2 separate regions of the Homo sapiens genome follow, and region 2 is linked to region 1. The links are contacts of gene promoters, found by promoter capture Hi-C in blood cells and fetal thymus (Javierre and others, 2016). All regions are on one chromosome and are shown on one strand. The core of a region is centred on a gene start or on the middle of the fragment in contact, and the rest is flanking DNA. Distances in the headings are between cores, read along the strand shown. Region 1 holds the start of FLRT3 (fibronectin leucine rich transmembrane protein 3). Region 2 overlaps MACROD2 (mono-ADP ribosylhydrolase 2).

Evidence for each region. Contacts are between HindIII fragments. The CHiCAGO score rates a contact against its expected background, and 5 or more counts as called.
Region 2: a fragment that was not itself captured here is called in contact with the fragment with the promoter of FLRT3 in region 1 in 2 of 17 cell types (megakaryocytes and endothelial precursors); the score reaches 6.7 in megakaryocytes.

The regions. Positions count from the first base shown.
Region 1 is chr20:14,335,109-14,340,477 of GRCh38, forward strand. FLRT3 (fibronectin leucine rich transmembrane protein 3) reads right to left here and starts at 2,504. Exons shown (of 3, transcript NM_198391.3): 1 at 2,296-2,504. The region is part of intron 3 of MACROD2 (mono-ADP ribosylhydrolase 2); the gene reads left to right. The HindIII fragment of the contact is 777 bases long and covers 1,756-2,532 here.
Region 2 is chr20:15,249,792-15,255,012 of GRCh38, forward strand. The region is part of intron 6 of MACROD2 (mono-ADP ribosylhydrolase 2); the gene reads left to right. Among named protein-coding and RNA genes, the nearest start is that of MACROD2-AS1, 320 kb to the left of the region's middle. The HindIII fragment of the contact is 2,406 bases long and covers 1,312-3,717 here.

The DNA of each region.
Region 1 (5,369 bases), core at 1,254-3,753:
TTCAAAATAATCCAGAAAAAGGAGGAAGCCTTAGGGTGTGTGGCCAAGAAAAGCACAGAAAAATCTCTCTGCAGTGCACTTGCATGTTTAAAGCTGATTATTGTATTTTTCATCTAGAGAGACTGAGTGTTCATTAGGGTCTTGTGTCCCTAGGCAGGAGATGCTGAGCATAATTGGAGTTTCTATTTGATTGGGCAATATAGTCTAGAGAAGAAACTGGGGTAAAGATAATTAATAGCTTGCTAACAAAGTCTGACAGCCACAAGATTTCAACCAAATTTATTTCACACTGCTTCATTTAGCTCTGAAAAAGTTTTGATAGAATTGTAGGCTCCTTAATTAACACTTGAAAGCAAAAGAAACATACCTTCTATTTTGCTGCCACATTTAGTTATGACAGATTTTCTTACTGTTTTTCTTCTTTTTGTAAAAACTTTATTTGCTATCCAATTATATATCTCACAAACGTTATGTTTGGGAAGTGTTTAATTGTGCATTTTGAACCCAGTCATAATTGATTTTAAAGGGTGGGGTGCAGCGAAATGAAAAACCCAATTAGTAACTGGTAGACAGTTTTACAGAACCGCAATATTAATGAATTCATTATGTTTATTCATTCACTAATATTTTGCTGATCCTTGGACTTGATGTGTTTTGGTTGTGCTCTTCAAAAAATCAAATTTTAGTTTTCTTAGTAAATCTATGCGTTTTTGTAACTCTGTTTTTATTTCAGGGTAATAAATAGATGTGCGTTTGTCTGTGTGTATATATATGTGTCCAAACTAAGGGGCATATCTCTGATTTAATTTTCCCATGGTAAAACCTGGCATATTATCATTAATATTTGTAGTAGTTGGTAATGTTGATATTATTGATTGTGGCACTTTTAAAGGATTAATTTTTCTTTACTCATTTCGGAAGAGATGAATATTAGTCATCTGTCACTTTGGGTCAGGTATAAGTGATTCTCCCTGAATATAAGCAAATTTATTCTTTATGTTTAGGCTGGTCAGGATATTTTTATGCAGTCAGAGATAAATGAAAGGCATTGCTACAGCTGAAGGACTTTTCTAGTGGCTTTATTTATGTTGTTTCTGGATAATAAAATAACATAGATGAGCATTTTAGACAGATTTATTAATAGACAGATTTATTAAGAATGTTTAAAATAGCCTTATTATTAAAACCATTAGAGATTTTGGACTAAAAATTGAAAAAAAAATCAATTTTTTTTCTTTTAAATTCTAAATAAAATAATAAAAACAAACCCCCCAGATGTTGAGAAGACATGGATGGGCCTGTTGCACTCTTTACCTATATGCAACCATTTTGTTTCAGACCTAATTCAGTGAACAAAATTTTTTGAGAAGATACATTTAACTACTTTTTCAAGCTTTGTAGTATAAATGCATTTCTTCCAATATAAGATTTTCCTATTATAAGTTGCAAAGAATGGATCCTCTGCAAAACCCACTTGATAAGGGCTCTACTCATTTATTTTTCTTTCCTGCTACCCCAAACTCACTGCATACATCAGGCATAGCTTCCAGGGTGAGCTTTGTTAGTTTTTCTGAGTAGACTTAGCCATTTACTATGCTAGTCACATACTTCACTTGCCTAAGCAATGGATTTTGGTGTTCTATTGAAGAGGGAATATGGTTTGGAAGAGTGTCTCCCCCTCCTCTGAGTTCAATTTACTAGTTGAGATTTGCAAGCCTGAAATGCTTGAAGCAGCTCAGGCACGATAGCAGTGCAAGCTTTAAAATCTAGGTGTAGCTGTTAATCCTTTACAGAGGCACATAAGTCTCCAGGAGTAGCTCGGCTAGCTGTGAGCAAGATGTATGCTTTTCATGTACTGCGTACTCATGGGCTGAGGGATTATTGATTTTCTTTCACAGTTGTAAAAACAGCAATTGGTGATCATCCCACACGTACAGTACACACCAAGTTGCTTTCCTATCTGTGAAGAATCTCCTTGTATTCTTTAATATTTAACATTGAACTTTCCAACTTGCTGTTTTCCATAAGGCTCTTTTCACATAGCAATTACTCAAGACAGAAAATAGCCACTTACTATCTTTTATAAATGAAAGAAGGTTCTAAGAAACTTCTTACATTCAGCCATGATAGTGAAATTTTTCATTGCTGGCTTGCACGCACATATATTGCTTGTTGTGGTGACAGAGCAAACGTTCCTATTTGGATTTCTCATAGTATCAAGTCGTTTCTTTCTAGAGAGTAAAACCAAGCAAACTTTCTGGGACAATCATAAGAAAAAACATGGAAAACACTTACCAGGAAGACGAGAAAAAGCAATCCTATATACACTGCCGCTATAGCTGTAATTCCATTGACAGTGAATTGGAGTAATAGCCCTCCCCCGTCTCCCAAGCTCTGCGTCCAGTCCACACAAAGCCCACGGCAGCTGCAGGCTGAGCTTGTCCTGCTTCAGATCACTCCTACACTGAGGAGTGAGCGAGGGAGAGCATTCCAGTTTACTGCACACAGCCCACCTCCAAGTCTGAAGTTTAAAGCTTCACCTCGCAGTGGCTGAAGAAGGGGGTGATGTCATAGATGGGCAGGACTTAGCCAAGATCTTGTTCAGTGAGGTAACTGGATAATCAGACAGATGAGCTTTGCAAACGCTAGAGGGGGCGAGAGCAGCCAAAATGAAGCATCAGCCTGCCAAAGCTAGGATGCCATTTGGTTTGTAGGCAGCCCTTTGGAATCTCAACATTTTCTAAAGTTTACTACAAGGCAGTGGTAGCATACTTATGTATTTTTTTTAAAAAGCATGTTAGAAAGATATTTTTAAGATCACAATAGAAAAAGACAGGCTTTGTCTTATTTTTAAACCATCTGTATTGAAAAGAAGTTAACCAAAATCAAATTAGTTTTATTATTCACTAGCTAAAATAATGTTATAATTGTGGAAGATGTATGCCAGTAATCCCAACTGTGAATGTTTATTCAACATATGAATAAACAGCAGATTCAAATATATACATCAGGGCTGGGTGTGGTGGCTCACGCCTCTAATTCCGGCACTTTGGGAGGCCGAGGTGGGAGGATCACCTGAGGTCAGGAGTTCGAGACCAGCCTGACCAACATGTAGAAAAAATTAGCTGGGCGCCCGTAATCCCAGCTGTTTGGGAGGCTGAGGCAGGAGAATCACTTGAACCCGGGAGGCAGAGGTTGCAGTGAGCCAAGATTGCACCATTGCACTCCAGCCTGGGCAACAAGAACGAAACTCCATCTCCAATATATGTATATATATACACGTGTCACTGATTCATTTAGTTATGGGAAGGGCAATAGGAATGCCAAAAGATTTTTTTAAATGGTATTAAATGGTCTGTTCTTTTGGAGGCGAAGAAGTTACTGTTCTCTATGTTTTAGAAAATGAAAGTATGTTTTATGTACTTCTGCTACGTGTTTATATTATTTAAAATGGATTATTTATATTTAACGATCCCCCAATAAAATGTTTTTAAAAAATTTAATAGAATATTTTCCTTTCTAAATGTTTTTGCTGATCTGAGCATGGGTTTAGATATAAACATCTTAAGAAAAAAATCTTTCAGGGTGGTTTGCCTGGATTGAAATTATTTTAGTTTAATTTAGGTACATGAATAAACACTGGACAATTGTAAGACGTGGAGATTATAAATTTCTATGCCTAATTAACAGAATTATACTTGTATTTTTAATTATGATTTTTGTAGACTGGTTTCTGCTATTTGGTCAACAATTGCTTTGTGCCCGTAAGTTTTCCATCAAATAAGTGTATTTCACTTGTTCATGTTGGTGGTAAGAACTTAGCTTTTATATTTACCTGGAGGACCGTTGTCTTAAACTAATATCTTTATTTGCTCTATTCTTAGAGGTGCATGACCTTCTCCTTTGTCCTTTCTCAATTTTTCCCTGCATGTTTATTTCTGAAGAAGGCCAGCTAATAGTCTTTCCCAGGACTATTTGATTGTGGTCTCTTCATTAGCTTCATTTAGTTTATCTATTTATATATTTGTTTGATAACAGTTTGACCTGAGTTCCCTTCCAAGAATGGGTGATATCAAAGTAGGTGAACCCTTGATAAGAAATGTATTGACCCTATTGTTCTATGATTGCACTTTTGTGGGCCTCAGAGGACAGACCCATTAAATCTAGGAGTTTTAGATTCTAATGTCCATTGAAAAGCCAATTTCTTTGAACTGCTAGGTAGTACAATTAAACTGATATGCAGCAGCTGAATTTTGGGAGGAAAGGGAGGTGGATATTTTTCTGTTACTATGAAACAAAGACATGGATTAAATTATTTTATTAAATAATTATTTCTAGAAGCCATTTTCAGATAGGAGTTGGTTCTGTTTAAAAAAGAAAATTTTTGCCTGGTCAAATTCCTGTGGGTTTATAGCCATATTTAATCAGTTTCGTCTTCATTCAGGCAGGCCTTAAACAGAAAAGAAAAATCAATTGGTGAATTGGGTTATAGGTATCAAAAATAAATTGTACTGGCCTGGGAGTTAGCAGTTTGGAGGTTTCCCTTCTCTGGGCTGCCATTGTTATATGACTTCATATTTGTTGCCCTAGGCTTTGGTTTCATCACTTGACAAATAAAGGCAGCAAGGATTTATTAAATGCCAATTATTTTTTGTTGCTTTTTTTCCCCTTTTAAGCTATGGATTAAAATATGGGAAAAGAAAAGAAATTGTGAAAATATATTCTATACTGGGGTACTGACTTTGGGGGCAAACTCTTAGTAGAATCTGTGGCCTCCTATTCTGTCCAAAAATATATACTCTTTTGCTGCATACATAGTTTTTCACTTCCCGCTCTTATCAGCTACCTGAAATGCTACTAGTTGAAGGTGAATTTATAATAATGTGTGCCCCCTTTGAAATAGTATGTACAATCTCTGGAAACATGAGGTTATCATGAGTTACTTCAGATTGCCCTCCTCTTTTGTTTTCTAAGGCACTTTGGCTACAATAAGGGGATGACTGTTTTGATTGAAGGGGATGGAATGCTGGCAATCTTTAGCATGAAACCCTTTTGGCTGTAATAGGAAGGGAGGAGGTGGATTCTCATATCAGGAAGGACTTGGCTCAGGGTAGAGGACAACCAGTGTAGTAGACCTGGGTAGTTTAAGAACATGGGCTTCAGAGATTAGCACAGCTGGGCTCCATGTTGGCTTTGCCACATGACTGTAGACAAATTACTTAATCTCTTTGAGTTTGTTAGCTCAGTGCCTGACTCATAGTAAGTGCTCAATAAGACGATAGCTGTCATTATTTAAGATGGGGGACATCCAAGCACCTGGAACAAAAAGGACACTAAGAATGGGAGAAGAATACACAAAGGGAGGTAGT
Region 2 (5,221 bases), core at 1,265-3,764, 910 kb after region 1:
AGGAAACATGGGCGGCAGGGGCCGAGCTGGTTCAAAGGTTTGAGGATTTGCACAGCGCCAACAGGACCACCATCCCATTACCAAATAATTGTGGTTATTTAAGAGTGAAATGTAGGTATTATTTTTCCCTTTATATGTATGACTTTTAAAAATAGGTACTGAGCTGTTAGTATTAAACCCTTACTACGTTGTTTAGACTTATCTACTTAAGAAAAGAAACTTTTAAGGCATTTCTTTACCTAAGGCCCTGGCCACCCTCTTGTGTCTCCTCTGCTGCCACTCTTAAATACAAATTTTTGGCTACCTGGAAGGTCCAGGAAGGTCATCATGCCTTTGTTTGTGATAGCACAGACTATTCCATCTGTCAAGATTACCTTCCTCACCTCCCCACCACCTTCACCAGCCCTACACCACACAGCTTAAGGTGCACTTCTGCTAGGATGAGTCTCTGATTAGTGTTTTTTGCCCCAGGTATTATTTTGTTGCCTCTGTGTCTGCACAGCCTTTTGTACACAGCTTTTATGTGGCAATATTCTTACTATACCCCCACTGGTGATGTACTTGTCTATCTGCCACATTGTTCCACGATTTCCATGAACTCCATGGGCACAGACGTTGCATTCGCTTTGACTTTGCTGGCATTTTTTATTGGGATTATGTCCATTTAGCTTATGATAAATTAGCATGAGTGCCTAAGATGGGATATAGATTCTTGAAAAAAGGTGAACATATAAGTCAAAGGATTGAGAAAAATGTAAGAATGTATGTGAAATAATAAGCCTTTACTCTTTTTCTTCTTGTTTATCATTTCAACATTTTATGTTGTGATTTTCTGTGTATATGCCACAGGACCTTTGCATATGCCATCCTCTGTGTTTAGGGGGATCTTCCTTCTCCCTTCACCTGAGTTACCTGCCTCCCTTCTTATCCTTTGGATCTCAGCTCTGTCTTCTCTTCCTTGGGAAAAAGTTTTACATTTATATTTGTATGCTTATTTGAATATTTTTCTTCTTCCTCCCCAGTTCATGAGCTCCATGAGGGTAGGGACAAGGTCTGCCCTGCTAATTATTGGATCCATAATTGAGTATATTGCCTAACATGTAGCAGGCATTCAGTAAATGTTTGTAGAATGAATGTAGAATGAATAAATGAATGTTGAATCTATGAAAGCTTCATGTTTGCATCAAGACCTGATGACTATTCTGAAGCAGTGGGATGTAGTTTTTCCAAGAGAGAGTAGGAATGTTGTCTACATTGTGAGAACAGAAAGGATTTAGGCAAGGGCCAGCAGGGAATGGAATTTTAGTTCCAAGCTTGAAAGAAATTGGGAATCATTTTAGGTTTCCGAAAAAAGGGGTAGGGGTCAGATGATCAAAATTGGGCTGAATGCAACACAGAAAGTTCTGTTTATTTAACCACTTGCAATATTTCACTTCAAAATGGATTCCCTGCCACTGAGAAGCTGCCATGTTTTCATTTGCTGGAACGTGGTGAAGTTAGATAAATGATAATGCCATGTCTTTGTTCATTCCTCAGTTAGAAAGCCTCAGCCTTAAATGCTCCCCAGTGCAAATTCTCACTGAATAAACATGGAGTGTATTGTTTTACAACATGCTGCTCAATGACATTGCAGCACATTTGGCACTGCTGAGCATTTCAGGATGAGGAGGCAGAAAATAACAACAGCAAAAAGCCCATAAAACAAATTGCATCCCCTATATTCCTTAATGAAGGACTTGGGTGTAAGTTGCATCAACGTCAGAGAATACTCATTCATTGCAAAGGTTTGGGAAAATCATATTTATGCATAATCTCCTTGTTCTCAATGATATTTTATTAATATTTATTTCCCTTTTGCCTTTCATCTGGTGTTATCTTCTTTTCTTTTTCATCTTTATTTTCCAAGTGACTAGCTGAAAAGAAAAACAGTGAATCGGTGCTAAGTTGCTATTTTTTCAATTTTAAGGGACTGATTCTTAATCAAGTTACTATTTTAAATGTTTAAATTGAGAAAGTTCCGGGTAACAACCTAAAAAATGTAAATACATACCACACAGTTAATTAATGTTTCTGAATTGCTACTGTTTGAAGTTGATAAGCCCCATGTATGAATTCCTCAGCTCAAAGCTGAGGGAGTTATATTAAGAAGACAGTAGAAAATAAAAATAATTAGCTAGTGTTTTGTAAGGAGGGAACATAAATGGTATCTGTGTGGCTCTAACTTTATCAATTCAGTCTGTTGATTTCAAAATTCAGTCATTTGAGATATTTGGTATTATGCAGATTTTAGGCAGCATGTGAACAAAGGGCTAAGGTAAGGATTATTGTATTGCATGTATTTCTGTGAACTAATTTTGAGGAGCTATACTAGGCTTCTGTTTTATGTGTATCTATAAGCATTTTACAAAACAATTCCATATGTATTGCTAATTAAATAAATTCATCTCAAAGTTTGTTACAAACTCAATCAAGTGTTTGAGATGTAGAAGGAACATATAGTTTAATCCTGTACCAGTCAGGATAGCCTAAGTCATGCTGAAGTGGCAAGTGATCTCAACATTTCTGCAGCTTACAGCCACAAAGATTGAGTTCTTACTCAGGCTAGATGTCCATAGAGGCAGCTCCAGCTCCACTACACATCACCTTCACTCTGGGACTGGCTGACAGAGCTGTCTCTCTCTGGAACTGTTGCTTGTCACAACAGTGAGAGAGAGAAGGCGGTTCTTAAAGCTACATATGGCTTACTGTCACATTTCATTAACTAGAAGAAGTCATTCGGCCATACCTACATTGAACAGGACAGGGAGACAAAGAGGGATAATCCTCCCTCAGGAAAAAGGTATCAAATACTTGTGATTAGTCTACCACTCACTCCTTCATATTTTGGATATGAAAAACATCACCAGAAGGATTAAGAAACTTGGCCAAGATCACTTGCAAAGCTGGGATTGGACCACATTCCTGTGACCCAATTGCAGACATTCCTGTGACTACATCCAGTGTCTCCTTGTATGCAAATTTGTGGACACACCATGGCATCCACAGACTCACCAGAGAAGGATGCCACCTACAGAGCCAGCTGCTCACCAGAGCCTGGCTTGCATCATGGCATCACTTTGATGGGGTCAGCATATTCGCCCCTTGACTCTGTAGGTCCAAAATTTGCATCTGTTAATGTATGCTGTATCAGTCAGGATTCAGTCATGGAGGTAGAACCGTATACATTTTGGTGCAAGGAATTTATTATAGGAATTAGTACTTAAACCATGTGGGAGGAACTAGGAAAATGAAGAAACAAGGGAGGAGTTGAAGGCCAAACCAGCTACTTTGATAAGCCAAGTGTGTTCAGTCATCAAAATAGGCAGGAAAGGGAAGGTTTTTGGGAGTCCAGTGGGATGTTGGGCTTCGGTGTGGCTACCACTGCTGTAGGACCACCACTAACCATTTAGGTAATGCCTATGGCTGCTTTTGCACTATGACAGCAAAATTGCATAGTTGTAATTAAGACTCAATGACCCACAAGCCTATGATATTTACTATCTGGCCTTTTACAAAGTTTCCTGACCCCTGGTCTATAGTTCAGAAGATTGATTTGCTGATCTATAGTAAGAAACTCAGCTATGCAGCAGGTCCAGCAACTACACAGTTCCAAGATAAGATATCATTTCCCCATTGTTAAATCTATGTGCAAAGCTAACTTATGATTAAATTATGGTAAGCTTAACTGTAATACAAGGAATCATTTCATACTATTTGTAAAGCAGTGAACACTAGCGTAATAAGTTATGATCGTGGAGGCTACCACCTGCACCATCCATACCCCGAGGGCTGGACACTCATAACTATGGGTGAGGCCATTCCTTCCGCTGGGGCAAGAATAACTATAGATGCCTATGGGAAACTGATACAATCTCATTCTCTACACTTCCTTTATATGCTGAAGGTCACAATCTTTATTCTTGCTTAGTGAAGAGAGAATCGACTGAGCTACATCCACACACTATTCACCATAATGAGAATTGGAATATTACTTCAAATTCTGCAGTCACCGAAGCAAAATCTGTAACAGGGTGGATTTCAAAAATTATTTTTTATCAAGGCATAACCTCATTTATTTTAGGTTCATGGATGTAATTTTATTCTCCAAGGTAACCTTATCTTCAAATTTTATAGGTCTCATGCTGTCCCCCATCCTGTATCACCTACAGGTGACTTTTCCTTGATATGACTTATAGAACATTAACAGTGCTTTCTTTTCAATCATACTCCGATTTGGTTAGTTCCAACTTAGGGGACACTTACTTTAAAATGTCTCTTCACCCTGCAGGAAACGAGTTTATTAGTGAAACTTTCAACGGATATTTTTATTCCATTTATGCCATTTATCTCTCCATGCCTTGTGAGGCAAAGGAGTGGTGTTTCACCAGGTTAAGAGGTAATTGATCAAGATTCAGTTCAAAAAAAGTGTAAACAGTACAGATCTTAACTCTCTTCAGTACTTTTAATCAAAAAGGAAAATCAAAGCGTATCAGCCAGAATCATCAATAACTCTTGGTGGATGTTCAAATGCAGTGACCTCTTGACACTTCCACTGCCTTCAGTTTTTGTTTTTATCATTTGTTGCTTAGCAGCACGGGGGGAAAGAGCAGGACTGTAGCTTGGATTTAAGCTCCTCATTTACTAGCTGTGCCCTTTTATCAAATCGTTTAATACTGGGAGCCCCACTTTTCTCATCTGTAGACTGGGGATATTAATGGCTCCTATCTCAAGCAGTTTTAAGAGTTAGGTAAGTTGATATTGAACTAATTTGACATTAATGTTAAATACTTATCATAGTACCTGAGTATACCTGAGGGCATATCCTTCATTCATCTAACAAACAAGGTGCTAAAGACACTATTATAATTATCACAGTAGTTCTATGAGGTTGCTATGATTATCTTTTTTGTTTGTCTTTTAACAAAGAAACAGAGAATCAGAGCAGTTAAATGACTTCCTTGGTCATAATCCTAGAGAATTTTAGAGCTAGAGATAGAATTCAGATCTATCTGACTACAAAGCCCAAGCTTGTGGACTTACCCTCCATTTGTCAAACGTGAATTCCTTGAATTGTAAACCATTTGGGGCCAAAGCACACCTTTTTTTTTTTTTTTTTTTTTTTTTCAGTTAAGAAGCTGGTAATTGAGTGAACACAATATAGTGGTACTTCAGTTAACTGGAG